Linked DNA regions of Homo sapiens: regions 2, 3 and 4 are each linked to region 1. Evidence: promoter capture Hi-C in human tissues and cell types (Jung and others, 2019). All regions are on one chromosome and are shown on one strand. The core of a region is centred on a gene start or on the middle of the fragment in contact, and the rest is flanking DNA. Distances in the headings are between cores, read along the strand shown. Region 1 holds the start of FAM13C (family with sequence similarity 13 member C). Region 2 has its middle 140 kb from the start of SLC16A9. Region 3 has its middle 170 kb from the start of SLC16A9. Region 4 overlaps LOC107984235 (a long non-coding RNA gene).

Evidence for each region. The method cuts DNA at HindIII sites, captures the fragments that hold promoters and counts their contacts. A contact is called where the count stands out against the background at its distance.
Region 2: a fragment that was not itself captured here is called in contact with the fragment with the promoter of FAM13C in region 1 in 4 of the 25 tissues and cell types used here (dorsolateral prefrontal cortex, heart right ventricle, hippocampus and 1 more).
Region 3: a contact is called between a fragment that was not itself captured here and the fragment with the promoter of FAM13C in region 1, in 1 of the 25 tissues and cell types used here (mesenchymal stem cells).
Region 4: a fragment that was not itself captured here is called in contact with the fragment with the promoter of FAM13C in region 1 in 2 of the 25 tissues and cell types used here (IMR-90 fibroblasts and spleen).

The regions. Positions count from the first base shown.
Region 1 is chr10:59,360,687-59,364,039 of GRCh38, reverse strand. It overlaps FAM13C (family with sequence similarity 13 member C), which reads left to right and starts at 1,491. Exons shown (of 14, transcript NM_198215.4): 1 at 1,491-1,641. The coding sequence starts at 1,580. It overlaps LOC124902428 (a long non-coding RNA gene), which reads right to left and starts at 2,141. Exons shown (of 2, transcript XR_007062148.1): 1 at 1,657-2,141; 2 at 526-972. The HindIII fragment of the contact is 7,624 bases long and covers 1-2,668 here.
Region 2 is chr10:59,565,348-59,568,700 of GRCh38, reverse strand. No RefSeq gene overlaps it. Among named protein-coding and RNA genes, the nearest start is that of SLC16A9, 140 kb to the left of the region's middle. The HindIII fragment of the contact is 8,599 bases long and covers 1-3,353 here.
Region 3 is chr10:59,541,616-59,544,968 of GRCh38, reverse strand. No RefSeq gene overlaps it. Among named protein-coding and RNA genes, the nearest start is that of SLC16A9, 170 kb to the left of the region's middle. The HindIII fragment of the contact is 5,622 bases long and covers 1-3,353 here.
Region 4 is chr10:59,513,556-59,516,908 of GRCh38, reverse strand. The region is part of intron 1 of LOC107984235 (a long non-coding RNA gene); the gene reads left to right. Among named protein-coding and RNA genes, the nearest start is that of FAM13C, 150 kb to the right of the region's middle. The HindIII fragment of the contact is 9,242 bases long and covers 1-3,353 here.

The DNA of each region.
Region 1 (3,353 bases), core at 242-2,741:
ATGGGGAAAACTGTAAGATGATGAAGCTGGTTCCAAAAGCATTTTGAGGATCTGTGGATTTACAGGTATTTAGAAAGAAAGTTTGGTTAGATGCAAAATGATTATTTGGTTAGATGCAAAATTGGTTATCTTCCTATATTGCAATAAAATCATAAACGCTGCGATTATCTTTTTCTCTGAACAGGCTGAATAAAATGTGCAAGTGACCACAGAACTTCACTGTGGCTGGAATCTAATCAATAGTGAAGAGCAAAGCCAAACACAACTGGAGAATTAACTGGCCCCTGGGTGGACTTGTTAACCGATGTCTCAGTTTGACATTGAAAGGTCATGCTCTTCCCCATTATTTCCAAGTTTTGGTAAAGTTTTTAATTGCCCAATTAGAAAAATTATGAGTTTTTTGTTGTTATGTTAACTCATTAACTTACATAGGTTTGGACTAAAAACCACTATCCTAGCTGCTTCTGGGAGTAGAAAGATTAAAAAGGGGGATGGGAATCTTATTTCAAAATTCAAATAAAATAATTCAAATTCAAATAAGAATCTTTAATAGATGCTACATCCCATATCCAGGTCAACATGGCAGGAGAAATGAACAATACAAAGAGGGCAGAACAAATATCCCCAAGGGAAAGAAGCCAGTGGGGGGACTGACAGTCTTTCCTTTCCCTAACAAGGCTGCCTTTATTCAAAGGGATAGCGTTTGCGGATTCCGTCTCTCCATCCTTTGTAAAGGTGCTAGCTAGGGAGCTGAGCTCAAGCGGGCTGCTCTAGGCATAGCAAGCCCCACCCCTTGCACGGTGTCCTAATCACCAGCTAACCCCTGGAATAAATTCTCCACTCGCCCTGCGTGGGTTCATTCACAGCTCTGTAGTCCGGGGCTGGGCGCTTCCTCTCTGGGACTGAAATAAGAGCGCTCTAGACAGATCAGGTGTGATGCAGCCAGCCCTGCTTTAGAGCCTATTCTTTTTCCTAGGCAACAAAAAACACACACACAAAATAAAACACCAAACAGCAGCAATATCCCCCTCCCCCTTCTTGTTCTCTCCTGACTTTTTCTGAACGATGGATGAATCTCTGCGAGCCTCCATCCCTGGGGGTGGGGTGGGAGTGTGGGGGGTTGGGGTGAGCTCTGTAAAATTGGTAGGAGACATGTGGAAGAAAGCAAGTCTCCCGGGTATTTCAGCACTTCGGCAGAAACACTGGGGCATTCTCATTGCCAGCCTCGGGGGGTGGCTGGCACAAAGAGCCCAAGATTAAACGCGGCGCCTGGGCTGGCGAGGTCGGGGTCGTGTGGTAACTCTCCAGGTGCTCCTCGCTGGATCCCGGGGTCCCAGCCCCGCCGCCGCGCCCCGCCCAGCTCTGTCCCCGCAGCCTCGCGGGCTGCCGGGCTTTGTGGTTCGCCCGTGCCGCTGGGCCCCTGCTGGGGGTGTCGTTACGAGCATGTGCAGACAGCAGCCCAAGGTAGAGCGAGCGTGCCGGGCGAGCCCGGAGACTTGCCTTGCAATGCCATGTTTGTGTATGTGCTCTAACTCCCGGAGAGCAATCAGGGAGACGGCTCCCCGGCCAGACTTGGCTGATGTTTTCTTGTTTCTGTTTCAGCCTTCAGGATAATTCCTTCAGCAGCACCACTGTAACAGAGTAAGTGATTCTTACCATTAAAATTAGACTTGCATGCCTTTCTCTGGAAGCAACTATCGTGAAGGTATCCTCCACCGTTCCCAGCCGCTGTTCGTTTTAGATGCATTGTCTCCCGGAATCTGGGGCTGTGAAGACCGTGAGACGTGCTGACTGGTGGGGCCCAGAAATCTTTACAGGTTGAAACCAGCATTTTAGCAGCTGCGGGAGAGAAATTAAAACCAGCTGATTGCTTGCAGGAGCTCAGTGCTCCAAGATATGTGTTCTTGGAGCTCAGATTTTTAAAAATCCATTTGATGTGTTAGGAAGCTTTGTTGTATTTTGCCAACATTGGTGTCAGTTTTCATGGAGTGCACACTATATACATTTACAGCAATAGAAGATAGATGTGAAATGAGCTGAATTCCAGCATGTGGTAAACAGGCTAAACTTATCTTGGCCCTCTCTTGTCTACAGATTTTTAAGGCATATCAGAGTAAACTTTTTGTGCATGCCCTTTGTCATGTTTGTCTTCTGACTACAGAGATGTGACTATGGGACGAATGAGTCACCTAGTCCTATGGTTAAAGCTGTTGATTAGGGCAACTAACACCCTTCAAACATGGAATGAAGGAGTGTGAATGAAGGAGCGTACCAGCAAGCACAGTATTTTTTTAAAGATATTTATATGCTATAGTTTTAATTTTTGACATCCCTTCCTTAATGTTTTCCTAATATTATACTATATTTGTTAAAAATTAACAGGTAGTGTATTTTGCTAATACTGTATGTAATTTATATATACATATATATATATGAATATGTACTTCATCTAGCATTCTTTCTCTAGGCTAATTCATGATGTTTACTTCTGGGACCTTTGTAGAAGCCACTCTAAACATCTTTTCAGGAAAAAGGCATGTGTAAAGTTGTATCCTCAACTACATTTAAAAAATGTTATGAGTTTGATGTAGAAGGCTTAACTAACTGGGGAGCTGTTTGCTAAAATTCCCTAAAAAGCAAATAAATGTTTTGCTTTTGGCTTCCAAGTCCTGCCACTATCACAATGACTTGGTGAGGGAGGGATAAGGTTTACAGTGCTTCCTAGGCCCTCTTGTTTTCCACATTCTTTTGTTTCTCTCTTTTGCTGTGCTGCTCCTTTAGTGTCCAGTTTTGAGCAGACTTAAGTGGAGTCACTTAAAAAAAAAAACAGGATTGACTTTAGAAGAAGCAATGTAAAATACTCATTTGGACCCACATTCTGTTTATAAGATTGCTTGGTAACCTGTGCTGCAATGTTGCTTTTCTAAAGGCCTGAGAGAAGGGGAGAGAGGTGTGCCAAAGTGTGCATCTGCAGGCCGAAGATGAGGCCTGGACTTCCTGCTCCAGGTGCACAGGTACTGCTCTCCTCCCTTTGCTGTGCTTAAAGTACTAAGTGCTTTCTGGCCCCGATTCTCAGGAGCCTGGTGTGGCCAAATCCTCGGTCAGTCACAGGCACGGCAGGTTCAAAATGGAGACACTTAGCTCCAGATTTCACGTGGACTTTTTTTTTTTTTTTTTTTTTTTTTTCTGTAGAGGTTTCGTGGTTAAATGCTGGGGAGAGCCTGGTGCCTTGTCTTTGGACACTCCCCAAGGAGTTCTGATTGCATAAGATCATGTTTTTACTTTCAGAGGAGTGACAGTGATTTATTTTAAAAGGCACTGAGAGATAATTGGTATGCCATTTGGCTAATATA
Region 2 (3,353 bases), core at 323-2,822, 200 kb before region 1:
GAGGTGGGAACTTTGCTTGAGTGCAGGAGTTTGAGGACATGGTGAGCTGCACTCTCTGTATTCCAGCCTGGGCAGCAGAACAACATCTTCTTAAAAAAAAAAAAAAAAAGATTTCCACAGATATTTCACCAAGAAAAAAAAAAAAGGAAAAAAGAATAGTAAGTTAGCACATGTAAGCACATGGAAAGATCCTCATTATCATTAGTGATTACAGAAATATAGATTAAACCCACAATGAGATCCACTTCATGCCCTCTAAAATGATTGCAATAAAAAAGACAATACCAAGTAGTAGTGAGGAAGATACCGGCAGCCTCACATATTGCCTAGTGAATTGTAAAATGGTACACCTGGTACTTTCTTAAAATGTTAAACATACAAGCACCATGTGCCTCAGTAATAACACTCCCCCAGATAGCTACCCAAGAGAAACAAAAATACATGCTTATATATGCTTACATAAAGACCCATGGTAGGACTATTTATAATAGCTCCAAGCTGAAAAAAACTAACAAATATCCATTAACTAATGAAATAAACATATGTAGTTATGTCCATACAATGGAAGATTATTCAGCAATGAAAATAAATACATAAAACAGTATGGATGAACCTCAAAAACATTATACTAACTGAAAAATAGCCAAGTACCAAAGGATACATAGTGTATGATTCCATTTATATGAAATTTCTGGGGAAGGCAAAAACTGTAGAGGCAAAAAGATCAGTAGTTGGCTAGGGCAAGGAGAGGGAGCAGAGACTAATTGTGGTGATGGTTGCACAATTGTATAGTTTTTGTAAAACTAATCAGGTACACTTAGGATGGGTAAATTTTATGATGTATAAATTCTATCTTCAAAAAGTGGGTAAAAATAAAACAAATTAGTAGATACATATGTGAATGAAACAAAAGTAGCCAATGCTTGGCAATTGTAGAATCTAAGTGTTAGGTATATTAATGTCCACCATACAATTTTGTTTGTTTGTTTTTTGTTTCTTGTTTTTCAAGATGGAGTCTTGCTCTGTCACCCAGGCTGGAGTGCAGTGGCGTGATCTCGGCTCACTGCAAACTCCACCTCCCAGGTTTGCGCCATTCTCCTGCCTCAGCCTCCTGAGTAGCTGGGACTACAGGCGCCTGCCACCACGCCTGGCTAATTTTTGTATTTTTAGTAGAGACGAGGTTTCACCGTGTTAGCCAGGATGGTCTTGATCTCCTGACCTTGTGATTCGCCCGCCTCAGCCTCCCAAAGTGCTGGGATTACAGGCATGAGCCACCGCACCCGGCCAACAAATTTTAAAACTTTTCTGTCTGTTAAAGGCCTTCGACAAAATTGAACAGCCCTTCATGCTAAAAACTCTCAATAAACTAGGTATTGATGGGATGTATCTCAAAATAATAAGAGCTATTTATGACAAACCCACAGCCAATATCATACTGAGTGGGCAAAAACTAGAAGCATTCCCTTTGAAAACTGGCGCAAGACAGGGTTGCCCTCTCTCACCACTCCTATTCAACATACTGTTGGAAGTTCTGGCCAGGGCAATCAGGCAGGAGAAAGAAATAAAAGGTATTCAATTAGGAAAAGAGGAAGTCAAATTGTCCCTGTTTGCAGATGACATGATTGTATATTTAGAAAACCCCATCATCTCAGCCCAAAATCTCCTGAAGCTGAGAAGCAACTTCAGCAAAGTCTCAGAATACAAAATCAGTGTGCAAAAATTACAGGCATTCCTATACACCAATAACAGACAAACAGAGAGCCAAGTCATGAGTGAACTCCCATTCACAATTGCTTCAAAGAGAATAAAATACCTAGGAATCCAACTTACAAGGGATGTGAAGGACCTCTTCAAGGAGAACTACAAACCACTGCTCAACAAAATAAAAGAGGACACAAACAAATGGAAGAACATTCTATGCTCATGGATAGGAAGAATCAATATCGTGAAAATGGCCCTACTGCCCAAGGTAATTTATAGATTTAATGCCATCCCCATCAAGCTACCAATGACTTTCTTCACAGAATTGGAAAAAACTACTTTAAAGTTCATATGGAACCAAAAAAGAGCCCCCAGTGTCAAGACAATCCTAAGCAAAAAGAACAAAGCTGGAGGAATCACGCTACCTGACTTCCAGCTATACTACAAGGCTACAGTAACCAAAACAGCATGGTACTGGTACCAAAACAGAGACGAATGGAACAGAACAGAGCCCTCAGAAATAATACCACACATCTACAACCATCTGATCTTTGACAAACCTGACAAAAACAAGCAATGTGGAAAGGATTCCCTATTTAATAAACGGTGCTGGAAAAGCTGGCTAGACATATGTAGAAAGCTGAAACTGGATCCCTTCCTTACACCTTGTATAAAAATTAATTCAAGATGGATTAAAGACTTAAATGTTAGACCTAAAACTATAAAAACCCTAGAAGAAAACCTAGGCAATACCATTCAGGACATAGGCACGGGCAAGGACTTCATGTCTAAAACACCAAAAGCAATGGCAACAAAAGCCAAAATTGACAAATGGGATCTAATTAAACTAAAGAGCTTCTGCACAGCAAAAGAAACCACCATCAGAGTGAACAGGCAACCAACAGAATCAGAGAAACTTTTTGCAATCTACCCATCAGACAAAGGGCTAATATCCAGAATCTACAAAGAACTGAAACGATTTACAAGAAAAAACCAAACAACCCCATAAAAAGTGGGCAAAGAATATAAACAGACACTTCTCAAAAGAAGACATTTATGCAGCCAACAGACACATGAAAAAATGCTCATCATCACTGGCCATCAGAGAAATGCAAATCAAAACCACAATGAGATACCATCTCACACCAGTTAGAATGACGATCATTAAAAAGTCAGGAAACAATAGGTACTGGAGAGGATGTGGAGAAATAGGAACACTTTTACACTGTTGGTGGGACTGTAAACTAGTTCAACCATTGTGGAAGACAGTGTGGGAATTCCCCAAGGATGTAGAACTAGAAATACCATTTGACCCAGCCATCCCATTACTGGGCATATACCCAAAGGATTATAAATCATGCTCCTGTAAAGACACATGCACATGTATGTTTATTGCAGCACTATTCACAGTAGCAAAGACTTGGAACCAACCCTAATGTCCATCAATGATAGACCAGATTAAGAAAATGTGGCACATATACACCATGGAATACTATGCAGCCATAAAAAAGGATGAGTTAATGTCCTTTGTAGGGACATGGATGAAGCTGGAAACCATCATTCTCAGCAAACTATCGCAAGGAAAGAAAACCAAACACCGCATGTTCTCACTCATAGGTGGGAACTGAACAAGGAGAACACTTGGACACAGG
Region 3 (3,353 bases), core at 612-3,111, 180 kb before region 1:
ACCGGCTTTATGGGTATGAGGTTTTATTTTGGAATGATGAAAATGTTTTGGAACTAGATAGAGGAAGTAATTTCACTACATTGTGAATGTACTAAATGCCACTGATATGTACACTTTTAAGTCCTTAATTTTATGTTATGTGAATTTAACATCAATTTTTAAAAAACCTCTCTATTGGATTCTTATAAAGATATTACGAAAAAAATAAGGAGATACTCTGTGAACCATAAGGAGTATTGCAAATGTAGTTCTCCTACTTGTAAAAATGTATTTGCACAAGGTCTCATTCTCTCAGGTCCTTACCAAGGCATCATCTGATATTATAAATTTACCTAGACATGTAAATGTCTAGGTATTTATTTATTTATTTATTTGTTATCTCTCTCAGCAAGAGTTTGAATTTTAATCTAACTCTTTGAGGCTTAAATCAAACTAGATTATAATTGACAAAATTTAGTAAAAGTGGAAGAGCATGCATGGATCATATTTGACATGCGAGGAGCTCCTTTGTTTTTTTGCTCCATACCTTCACTATGTAAGCAGGTGGCCTTTTTTGCTTAACTATATAGTTGGCTTTGCTGTTTTTTTTCTCTTATGACGTGTGGGAATTGGTTTGGATAGTTAGGCAAACTTTCAAGCAATTATTTTAGTGGGGTGAAGAGAAACTACTTTAGAACTGTTGTGAGTTCAGAAAAATATAAATGCTTTTAGGTTTATTTTGCTTACTTTCAAAATAAAAGCATTTTTATTGAGTCCTTTAGGAAAAATGTATATTCCTATAACCAGGTTGCAGAACAACATAGAAGACTACCAATGAGAAAATGGTCATTTTGTGGGGTATTTTTTTTTTTTTTTTTTTTTTTTTTGCTACTAGAAATGTTTCATAATCTTTGAGATATAACACTACTGGGGAGGTTTTATATCTTTTTATTCTAGAAAGTGATTGAAGACCATAAGAAGAACCAGGTAGGCTTCATATATCCTTTATATGTCTATAATTGGATATTATTGATAATAAGACTGAAACTTTGTCTAATTTATATCTAATTGTAATTCTAACACTTGGCATACCCTACTCCTATGGAATTTGGCCATCAGGGCAAAGTTACGTAAACAACAGAGAAGGTACAAAATAAATCAGGATATATGTGGTCCCTATTAATATCTACCCTTGTGTAAACAGGGAATTTGAACTTTATTTTTTTTTCCGTTCTTACCTGAAGAACTGGGAAGGGAATGATTTTGTGGTGCAGTGTTTATATACTTCAGCAACCTCTGCTCCTAGAGGGAATTCACCAGGTCTAGGAGAATGTCAGAGCACTGTTTTATCTGAGAACAAATGTTAAAGAAATGTCTTACTATAGCTGAAATAAAATCTGAAAATCACTTTCAATCTTTTTCTAACTTTATTTTTTTATTAAGTCTCCTAGGTGGAACAACATGAATCTCTGATTAGCTACATGAAAATGCTAACTTCTTGTGGAAGTATATTAGTTTCTTGACTCCAAAACTTCCCAAAAAATATACAATGAAATCTACAGAAACTGAGGCTAAAATTCTATGCTTTATTCTGCTGTTTGATCTTTTCTTCTTACCAATCCTCAAAGTAGAGCTTAAATCCATCATCATTATCCATTTCTGCTTCACTTAAACATTTATTGACCACTGAGGGACGCACAGGAATATGATATAAAACACAATCCTTTAAGTAAATTATTTTACAATTTAGTTGGGGAGTAGTTGTACCGGGTTGGATAATGTTCTCAAATTCATGCTTTTCCTGGAATATTAGAATGTGAATTTTATTTGGAAATAGGGTAATTGTAGATGTAATTAGGTACAATGTGGTCATACTGGAGTAGGGTGGACCTGTATTCCAGTATGACTGGTGTCATTATGACACAAAGAGAAGAGACACAGAGACAAAAAACATTGGAAGGATGCATGTGAAGATGGAGGTGGAGACTGGAATGATGTGCCTGCAAGCCAAATAACCGCAGGGTTTACTGTCAACACCAGAAGCTCAGAGAAACACATGGAACAAATTTTCCTCTAGAGCCTATAAAGACAGTGTGAGTCTGCCTACACCTTGATTTTGGGTTTTTAGACCCCAGAACTGTGAGAGAATACATTGCTGTTATTTTAAGCTATCAAGTTTGTGGTTCTTGCTTATAGCAGCCATAGGAAACTAATATAATAGTCATAAAAATAAAGCTGTTATTATTAAATACTGCGATGTTCCAGGTTCTGGTTCTTTGAGTTCCTTCCCACTCTAAGGTATTACTAGGTGTTATCACTATTGTCCCCAGAAGAGCAAATGGAGAGTCAGAGAAGCCTAACAACTTGTTAATGTCACTCTGCAAGTAGCTCCAACCCTTGTCAGTTTGTCTCCATGGACCAGTCTCTTCAATACGGGAGGACGGCCCATATAAGCAGGCAGAAGGCAAAATGAGAGGCAAGAAGGGAGTAGGCCCCCAAGCTGGGAATAGTCCAGATGTTCACGAATAGCAGTGGTACATTGTGAATTGTGGTACATCCATGTGATGGAATACTACTCAGCAATACTAGAGCAAACATCTATAGCATGCAACAGTATGGATGAATCTTAAATGCAATATTCTGAGTGAAACAAGCCATACACAAGAGAGTGCATACTATATGATTCCAATTATATGAACTCGTAGAATACGCAGAACTAACCTATGGTGAAAAAACTTGAAAAGGTGATTGCCTATTGTGTGGAAGATGGTTTGCTGGAAACTGGGCACTGAGGTCCCCATTCGGTGGTTCAGGGTGGCAGTAGCCTGCTCCCTGCTCTGGGTACCCATATATGTCCACACAACTGGGAGTGGAAGAGCCTGTAAATGTCACAGGATCAGGTATGAAACAGTCCCATGTGCCAGTTTTGCTGGCCATTGCTTCTTTTCTTTTTTTTTTTTTTTATACTTTAAGTTTTAGGGTACATGTCCACAATGTGCAGGTTAGTTACATATGTATACATGTACCATGCTGGTGTGCTGCACCCATTAACTCATCATTTAGCATTAGGTATATCTTCTAATGCTAACCCTCCTCCCTCCCCCCACCCCACAACAGTCCCCAGAGTGTGATGTTCCCCTTCCTGTGTTCATGTGTTCTCATTGTTCAGTTCCTATCTATGAGTGAGAACATGCGGTGTTTGGTTTTTTGTCCTTGCGATAGTTTACTGAGAATGATGATTTCCAATTTCATCCATGTCCCTACAAAGGACATGAACTCATCATTTTTTATGGCTGCATAGTATTCCATGGTGTATATATGCCACATTTTCTTAATCCAGTCTATCACTGTTGGACATTTGGGTTGGTTCCAAG
Region 4 (3,353 bases), core at 502-3,001, 150 kb before region 1:
GAGGGAAGGATTGTGTAGACAGAGGGAACAAATTGAATATTCTGCACAAAGATACAGGGGACTGTCAGTAGGATATGATAAGCAGCTCCCTTGGGGCTGAAGACCAAGGGTGGTGGGGAGTCACTGGTGACACAGTTGCAAAGGTAAGAAGACTTCTGGTTAAATTAAAATAAAAAAAAAGAAATAAACTCTCCTTTGGTGGAAAGGACAAGAGCAATGACTTTGCCTCCTGTGGGAGGAAAATTTTCTGTTAAAAGCACATCTTAAGACATTACTAAAATTTACTTCCAAATTCACATTTATCCACCCACTTTTGGTTTTTGGTGCCTGCAAGCTGGCTGTGAAATAGGTTTTGGCAGGAGTAAAATAGCTATGATTATAGAAATCTATCATCATGATAGAGCAAAGGAATTGTTAATAGTCACAAGGAGATATATATATATATATAAATATATATAAAATATATATAAATATATATAAAATATATATAAATATATATAAAATATGTATATAAAAATATATAAATATATAAAATATATATATAAAATATATATAAATATATAAATATATATAAATATATATAATATATATATAAAATATATATAAAAATATATATATAAATATATAAAATATATATAAATATATAAATATATATCAAATATATATACTATATAAATATATAAAATATATATAAATATATAAATATATAAATATATATCAAATATATATATACTATATATAAATATATATAGTATATATATAAATATATATAAATATATATACAATATATATAAATATATATACTATATATATAAGTAAATATACATATATTCATTAAAACATGTAGTTTCTATACTATAGTCTTTTACTTAAACAAAAAAGAAAAGCCTGCAGTGGAGCTCAGGATAAAATACAAACTACAAAGAGAAATAGAAGTGAAGGACACACTCAGGTGGCCCAGAGGTCTTGTCTTTGAGCATCTATTGATTACTGGAGCTGCTGTGCCTGATATTCACCTGAACCTCTGCTTTAGTACCAAAGAGTGGGGGCCATTCTGAACTTGTCTGAATTATTAGGTTGCTGCAAGAGTAATTGCTCTTTTTGCCATTAAGAATAATTGCAAAAACTGATATTACATTTGCACCAATCTAATACTTGCTTTCCTTCTGTTCTTGCCTACCTCCAACAGGGAGGGCTTGGGGCACTGCTCTTCTGAGTCCTAATCACACATATATTTATTTTATTAGTCTCCTGTAGTCATTCCTGTCTCTTGTGAGTATGAATCTCAGTCCAAAAACTCAGCTTGGAATGCAACTTTAGGCTAACATGATAGTAATTCTGAGCCTCTAGCCCTGTAGTCAAGGGAGAAATTAAATTTCTGTCCCTACTGGGGTTCTCTCCTTAAGGAATTGCCCACTGACCCAGGGCCCTCTCCCTCTGATTGCTGGACACATTGGGGGAATGATGACCATTCCCTGCTGATAGTCCCAGGGCACTGCCAGGGGCTGCCCGCTGCTCCCCAGGCCTAGTGGTCTCTCTTCCCACTTGGCCCTCTGTGTCCCTAGAAATAGGAAGAATTACCTTCTTCTCTCTGGTGCCTTTTTTAGGGATGTTTGTTTCTCTCCCTCTAGGATACATCACATAGGCTTATACATGAGTTTAGGCTTCGGAAAATAACAGCCAGGAAGGGAAGGATCTTAGAGGCCATTTCTCTTCTTTCACCTAAAATTCCTTCTGGGTGGAAAGCACAGAGACTTCTTGTCTGTGGCTACTCCCCTTATCCTAATCTGATTTCTCAAGGCAAGAGTGACAGCAAATGGTGGTGGGGGAGCAACATGGAGACACCGACACTTGCTCCATTTCCAAAAGGCAGACACAACCTGTAAACCAAAAAGTGAGGAGATCTCAATACATTTAGAGATTTATTTTGCTAAGGTTGAGGACACACCTGGGAAAAAGAAACACAAATTACAGTAGAATCTGTAGCCTGTGCTTTTTCCAAAGAAGGTTTTGACAGCTTCAATATTTAAAGGGGAAAGAATGGGCAGAAAGGGAGGGAGGAAAGAGGGAAAAAAAGGGGGTTAGATAGTGAGACAAGCAGTTACATTCTTTGAGGCTTTGATTAGCAACCACTGAATCCACATTTTACACAAGAAAAGAGAGGATTGGGATAAAAAGTCAATTAGTCATTCATTTGTCTTGTGTTCTTTGCAGATCTACATTTTACATATGATAATGTAAACATGTGAAATTACAGCTGTCTCTTCGTTCAAAAGGAGGGTTTGTTTGCTTTTGTTTTTGTTGACTCAGTTTTGAAGCTTAACTTTTCCCTTTGGCATAGTGAGTTTGGGGTCCTGAGATTTTATTTTCCTTTTACAAACCCACATATCCATCGATGGATGGGTGGATAAATGCAACAGACGTATCCATACAATATAAATGGTATATTCATCCATAGAAAGGAATGAAGTACTGATATATGCTGCAACATGTATGAACCTTGAAAACATTATGCTAAGTGAAAGCAGCCAATTACAGAATATCTTATATCGTGTGATTACATTGAAATGAAATGTCCCGAATGGGCAAATCTATAGAGGCAGATAGGAGACTAGTGCTTGCCTCGGTTGAGGAGGTTGAGGGATGACTGATGAAAGATAAGGAGGTTATTCCTGTAGTGATGAAGATATTCTGAAACTGATTGTGGTCCTCATTGCACAGTCTTTGAATATACTGAAAAAGAAAGCTATTGAATTGTATAATATGTGAATTATACCCCAATAAAGCTATTATCAAGAAAAAAAAGGAGTAGGGCTGTAATTTGCTGATCCCAGATCTATGCACTAACTCAAAGAAATGAATGTTATCTTTTGGCCATATATTTTGTTAATGTTAATGCTTCTTCATCAGGTATTGCTGATAACTGGCTGTTCTTTCAAATTAATCACTTTCCTAGGATGCAAAACAATCATTTTCCAAGTATCTCTCACAATACTTGGGCCTTTGGCTTTCTCTACAGGTTCTTGAAAGAAAGGAGGGGTAATAATTTCAACTTATACCCATAGAGGTTACTCTGAATGCTGGAGCGCCTACTCTAATTTGCTACATTTGTGTGATTTTGATAATATCTAGACCATGAAGCATGAATCATGCAGCTGGAAGAGATCCTAGAAACAATCTAGCCCAGTGGATTTCAAACGTATTTAGTAGAATCTGGAGCTAGAGGGCAGGGGCCTCAGGCAACAGCAGGAGGGAACTGGGATGGGTGATAAATTGGTCAGGGTGGGCTCCTACCGTTTTTTCAGTCAGAGCAGCCCTGGTTTTATCTGATGTGTATGTTTGGCTTCAGCAAG